Regions from separate parts of the Homo sapiens genome. Here region 2 is linked to region 1. The links are contacts of gene promoters, found by promoter capture Hi-C in blood cells and fetal thymus (Javierre and others, 2016). All regions are on one chromosome and are shown on one strand. Each heading gives the region's core, a stretch centred on a gene start or on the middle of the fragment in contact. The rest is flanking DNA. Distances are from core to core; before and after follow the strand shown. Region 1 holds the start of TFRC (transferrin receptor). Region 2 overlaps SLC51A (solute carrier family 51 member A).

Region 1 (3,123 bases), core at 601-3,100:
AGCCCAGGAGTTCAAGACTAGTCTGGGCTACATAGCAAACCCTGCGTCAAATTAAAAATAAAAAATAAATAGGCTGGGCATGGTGGCTCATGCCTGTTATCCCAACATTTTAGGAGGCCAAGGTGGGCAGATCACCTGAGGTCAGGAATTCGAGACAAGCCTGGCCAACATGATAAAATCCCGTCACTCCTCAAAATACAAAAATTAGCCTGGCATGGTGGCACACACCTGTAGTCCCAGCTACTTGGGAGGCTGAGGCAGGAGAATCGCTTGAATCCGGAGGCAGAGGTTGCAGTGAGCCCGAGATCATGCCACTGTACTCCAGCCAGGGTGACAGAGCAAGACACTGTCTTAAAAGTAAAAATAATAAAAATAAATAAAATTAATAATTAAAGAAATAAAGAAGGAACACCACAGGGGAGCAGGCCTGGTGTCTGAATGTTAAGGTAGGCCCTCTGTGGATGTGCATCCTTAACCTTTTCCTGATTAGATCATTAAAGGTGCAGCAATGCTCCTGCTCATATGACTTTTTTTTTTTTTTGAGATGGAATCTTGCTCTGTCGCCCAGGTTGGAGTGCAATGGCGCGATCTTGGCTCACTGCAACCTCCGCCTCTTGGGTTCAAGCGATTCTTCTGCCTCAGCCTCCTGAGTAGCTGGGATTACAGGCGCGTGCCACTATGCCTGGCTAATTTTTTTTGAAATTTTTTTAGTAGAGATGGGGTTTCACCATATTGGTCAGGCTGGTCTCGAACTCCAGACCTCGTGATCCGCTCACCTCGGCCTCCCAAAGTGTTAGGATTGCAGGCGTGAGCCACCGCGCCTGGCAACTCATATGACTTTTAAACACTTCTCTTTGGGGAGAGAGATTTTAGAGAATGGGAGTAAAGAGAAAGGCGGTGAGAATCCCAAGTACTTTCTCTATCTTAGAGCAGAAGAAATAAAGGGAAGAGTAAAAGCCCAAGGCCCAGAAACGGATTTGCTTCTTAAAGGGCTGTTCTGTGTCCCTACGGGCCTGAAGGTCAGTTTATGTGCAATGCTTTTTAAGGTATGGGTTGCTTTCTTGCATTGTAGCTACTACCTCCCTGGCCTGCTGGTTACTGACCAGAGGGAGGGAGAGGGTGTGATTGTTTGGAAAGAGTTTAAACAGTGACAAGAATTGAATTTTATTTATTTGTTATTCATTGCACAATCCAATAACAGCGATGGCAATGAAAACGAAAGTTAATCTACAATCCTATCACCCTATTAAGTCACTTGTTTCTATTTTCCCTTTTATTCCCTCATGCATTAAACATTACGCAAAGCACTCCGCTAGTCTTGGTTAAAGTGCAGCTTGTATACATTCTGAATAAAAATTTGCATTTTGCTTTTCTTTTCCTTTTTGTATTTCTGAGGCTGCAAAATACATCTTCACAAGAGTGGCTTTAATAGTTACCTAACATTCCATCCTGCACGTACATTTCAAGGCACTGCCGCAGTGCAATATCCAACATTTAAGCGTCAACGCCAACAGATTGGACCTAGCACTGCAGGGACTGGAGGTTGGTCAAGGTCAGGCGGAGGCTGCCAGGCTACCAGGGTGGAGGAAGGCGCCGAGGCAGAGGCCAGTGCGCCCATCGCGCGGCTCCTCGGGGCACCTGCTGCCTTGGCGCCTTTTCCCTTGGCCTTCGCCTCGCCCGCAGCGCCCTCCGCATAGGGCCCCGCCCGCTGCGCGCGCATCCCCGCCCCCCGGGCGATCTGTCAGAGCACCTCGCGAGCGTACGTGCCTCAGGAAGTGACGCACAGCCCCCCTGGGGGCCGGGGGCGGGGCCAGGCTATAAACCGCCGGTTAGGGGCCGCCATCCCCTCAGAGCGTCGGGATATCGGGTGGCGGCTCGGGACGGAGGACGCGCTAGTGTGAGTGCGGGCTTCTAGAACTACACCGACCCTCGTGTCCTCCCTTCATCCTGCGGGGCTGGCTGGAGCGGCCGCTCCGGTGCTGTCCAGCAGCCATAGGGAGCCGCACGGGGAGCGGGAAAGCGGTCGCGGCCCCAGGCGGGGCGGCCGGGATGGAGCGGGGCCGCGAGCCTGTGGGGAAGGGGCTGTGGCGGCGCCTCGAGCGGCTGCAGGTACACGGGGTCGGCGGCTGTGCGCAGAGGCGTCCCTGCGCCTCTCGTCCCTTCGCCTCTCGTCCCTTCCCTTCTCTCTGCCTTCTTGCCCGCCTCCTCGGTCACAGAGCGACGAATGACGAGACCAGGTGTACCCCCACTGTCGCTCTCAGCCCCGGGGACTTCGGGTCCTCGCCCTTGAAGGCCGCAGGCCCTAGTGCGCCGGCTCCGGGCTGCGGGTCCGGGAGCGCGGGCGCAGCCAAGGTGCAGCTGCGCGGCGTGCGGCGCCGGGGGAACACGTGGCTGCTCCAGGAAGTCGCCCCAGGGAACGGCTGGGATTCGTGGGTGACCTTGGGCTCCTAAACCTTCGGTTCCCCGGGCTCCGGGCGGGCCCCGTTCTCACTGCGGAAAGGGACAAAGCTGTCCCCGATTCGGTTACTAGCGTGTTACAGGCATTAATTAGATACGGGTTTCTGTAAACTTACCCTTCGGCTCTGGTACAACCTGATCTTGCCATGCTCTGCCTGTTCGCCTTGTGTGTGGATTCTGTTTTCTCAAGGCAGAATCCGACTGAACGCCGCAGGTGTTCACATTAAGAATATTGCTAGCAGTTCTCACTACAAGACGGGAGCCATAGGAGTGACTTATTTGTGAAAGATACTTGGAGATTAGCGGTGTGGTCAGAGGGCTGTGCTGGATTGATGGGCGCCGGAGAGGCCGATTGTGTCACATTCTGCTGGACAGTTCTTTTAAGGTTGGGAGGGTGGGTAAGAAAATACATTCTGATTCGGCTCTTTTCGGATAACGCTTTCCCTCTGCTTACTGCTTGTAGAGACCTCACTTACCCGGGGGACTGGATTCTGCAGCTTTTTCCATTTTCTTCCCCGTTGATAAGAGGATTAAAGTAGGAAATTGTATTTGGCTACCCCATGCTTATATGCTAAGCTTACTGTGAAAATTAAGGTTAGGCTGTCTAGAGTACTTGTGGACCCTGCTGGTTCCCCCCGCCCCCCGGCCCTGAATTTTGGGTTACAA
Region 2 (3,003 bases), core at 81-2,580, 140 kb before region 1:
GCTCTTCAAGTGGCAACACTGTAGCGGGGAGCAAGGATGAGGCGGCTGGTGGGCTGAGCAGATCTCCAGCTGTCTCCGCAGCCCTTAGAATGCAAACACTGCACAGCCTTCCAAGCAGAGGATCCTAACTGCAAGGGGAGGTCGGCCTGCAAACCTCGGCCCTCCGCGGGTCGTGGCAGGACACTCTTTGCCGAAGTGACGTGCTGAGTTTAGAGGAATTCTCACCTTGGTCTCTGCCTTCTTTTCAGTTCCCCCCACAGGGCAGCCCCGGGGGCCTCACCGTGGGTGCCGAGCTCTTCCAGAGCAGAGTCCGCCTCTTGATGGGGCAAAGGGTGTTCTTGTACAGGTAGACGGCATCCTCCAGGAAGATGGCAATGGAGCCCAGCGCCAGCAAGGTCAGGATGCTAGTGAGGGCAAGTTCCACAGGGCCCAGGGCTAGAGGAGGAGAAGGCAGAGAGCTGACGACCGGGACTGAGCGGGAGAAGGCCTGGGCTTGTTCCTCGGATCGAAATTGCCTTACTGGATCTAGGCTCCCACCCGTGCACAGGAATGAGGATTTTTTAGACCTAGAGTATTCAACCTAAGAAATAGTCTTTTTTTTTTCTTTTTCTTTTTTTTTTTTTTTTAAGACGGAGCCTCACTCTGTTGCCCAGGCTGGAGTGCAGTGGTGTGAACTTGGGTCACTGCAACCTCCATCTCCTGGGTTTAAGTGATTCTCCTGCCTCAGCCTCCCAAGTAGCTGGGATTACAGACACCCACCACTATGCCCGGCTAATTTTTATATTTTTAGTAGAGATAGTTTTCTCCATGTTGGCCAGGATGGTCTCGAACTCCTCACCTCAAGTGATCCACTCGCCTTGGCCCTGCAAAGTGCTGGGATTATAGGCCTCAGCCCCCGTGCCCAACCCCACTTCACTTTTCTATCTCCAGTGCCAGGTGCTGCACTAGCGAATGTAGATCAATTAACATAATTGAAGCCGAATATAATTTATGGGACATTCTGGATCTGTTTAAGTTGATTTCACCAAAATTATATGGTGAAACCAGGACATTAGCAGAGAACTTTTTTGTGGGGAGGAGGACAGGTTCTCACTCTGTCGCCCAGGCTGGAGGGCAGTGGTGTGATCATGGCTCACTGCAACCTTGACCTTCCGGGTTCAAACCATCCTCCAACCTCAGCCTCCCAAGTAGCCTGGGACTACAGGTGTGCACCCCCACCACGGCCGGCTAATTTTTAACATTTTCTGTAGAGACGGGGTCTCACTACGTTGCCCAGACTGGTCTCAAACTCCTAGGCTTAAGCAGTCCTTCCACCCTGGTCTCCCAAAGTGCTGGGATTACAGACGTGAGCCACCACACTCGGCCAGGGGAGAACTTCAACAAAAGAGAAACGGATCAAATAAAAACCCCAAGGACACCTGACGCACGCTGGCCTCATGCTTGGTCTTACATGAACTATAGTCCAAGGTTTTCAAACTTTCGTGGATATTGCAGTCATTTTGGGAGTTGTTAAAAAGCAGCTAGCTGCCCAGGCCCTACGTTCAGACATGTGCGTCCATAGATCTGAGATGGGCCCAGTCATCTGCATTTTTAACAAGCTCACCTGATAGTGGTCGGAGGATAGCAGACACTTTGACAAATACTGGTAGACCTCATCTGGCCTCACCGTTGCTAACAGAAAAAAATGAATATAGTCACAATATGTGTTTCCGAACAAACGTGATTCATTAATGCAGCCGTTAGTTTTAAAGAAAGGGTTCTAGGTCCTTAGTGAACCTGTGGTCATTTATCTAAGTGTCTTTTCTAGTTATTGGACCCTCCTTTGCACCTGCTACCTGACTAGATAAGAGGAAGAAAGGGAGAAAACTGCCACACTCCAGTCATTGTCCTGTTGCCTTGCGGGGTGAGCACGAGGAAGGGATTAGCTAGTCTGCTCTGTGTTTTGGTGACTAAGGAACATGAGGGCAGCTCAGTGGGAGCAATATGACTGCTGAAACCAAAACAGGGAGAAAGGTGGCCACGGTACAGACTTGAGCTGGAGCTCTTGTCTCGGTCAGTCGCACCTGGTGGCACCACAGGACCAACCAGGACTATGGGTGAATTTGTCAAAAAATACGCTGACCCTCGGCTGGGCACGGTGGCTCACACTGGTAGTCCCAGCACTTTGGGAAGCTGAGGTGGGCGGATCACTTGAGGCCAGGAGTCCAAGACCAGCCTGGCCAACATAGTGAAACCCCACCTCTACTAAAAATACAGAAATTAGCCGGGTGTGGTGGCGCCTGCCTGTGGTCCCAGCTACTCCGGGAGAGGTGAAGGCTGTAGTGAGCCAGGATCACACCGCTGCACTCCAGCCTGGGTGAAAAAAAAAAAAAAAGGAAAATACCTATAATACTGAAAAAAGTTAGCAATGCTTATGTTTGGGTGATGGGACTATGGATGATTTGTGTCTTCTTTTCTACTTACTTTTTTCTATCTTTTCTGAGTAGTCACTTTTTTAAAAATTAAACAACTTAAATTTATTTTCTCATAGTTTTGGAGGCTAGTTCAAGATCAAGGTGTCAGCAGGTTTGATTTCTCCTGAGGCCTCTCTCCTCCACTTGCAGACAACTCTCCTCTCCTCCCCTCCCCTCCCCTCCCCTCTCCCATTCCCTCCCCTCTCCCCTCTCCTCCCCTCTCCTCCCCTCCCATCTCCTCCCCCCCCCGCCCCGCCCCCTTCTCTTCTTTCAACGAAGTTTCACTCTTGTCGCACAGGCTGGAGTGCACTGGTCTGATCTTAGCTTACTGCAGCCTCCACCTCCCAGGTTTAAGTGATTCTCCTGCCTCAGCCTCCCAAGTAGCTGGGATTACAGGCACCTGCCACCACGCCCAGCTAGTAGAGACGGTTTTCGCCATGTTGGCCAGGCTGGTCTTGAACTGACCTCAACTGACCCGCCCACCTCGGCCTCCCAAAGTGCTGGGATTACAGGCGTGAGCCACCGGGTCCAGCCGACAACCGCGTTTCTA

Evidence for each region. The method cuts DNA at HindIII sites, captures the fragments that hold promoters and counts their contacts. A CHiCAGO score of 5 or more calls a contact.
Region 2: a contact is called between a fragment that was not itself captured here and the fragment with the promoter of TFRC in region 1, in 2 of 17 cell types (M1 macrophages and M2 macrophages). The highest score is 6.1, in M1 macrophages.

What each region holds. Positions count from the first base shown.
Region 1 is chr3:196,080,817-196,083,939 of GRCh38, reverse strand. TFRC (transferrin receptor) reads left to right here and starts at 1,850. Exons shown (of 19, transcript NM_001128148.3): 1 at 1,850-1,897. RefSeq lists silencers at 1,528-1,867, 1,918-2,217 and an enhancer at 3,099-3,123. The HindIII fragment of the contact is 5,608 bases long and covers 1-3,035 here.
Region 2 is chr3:196,224,397-196,227,399 of GRCh38, reverse strand. SLC51A (solute carrier family 51 member A) reads right to left here. Exons shown (of 9, transcript NM_152672.6): 3 at 281-435. Among named protein-coding and RNA genes, the nearest start is that of SLC51A, 9.4 kb to the right of the region's middle. The HindIII fragment of the contact is 5,487 bases long and covers 1-3,003 here.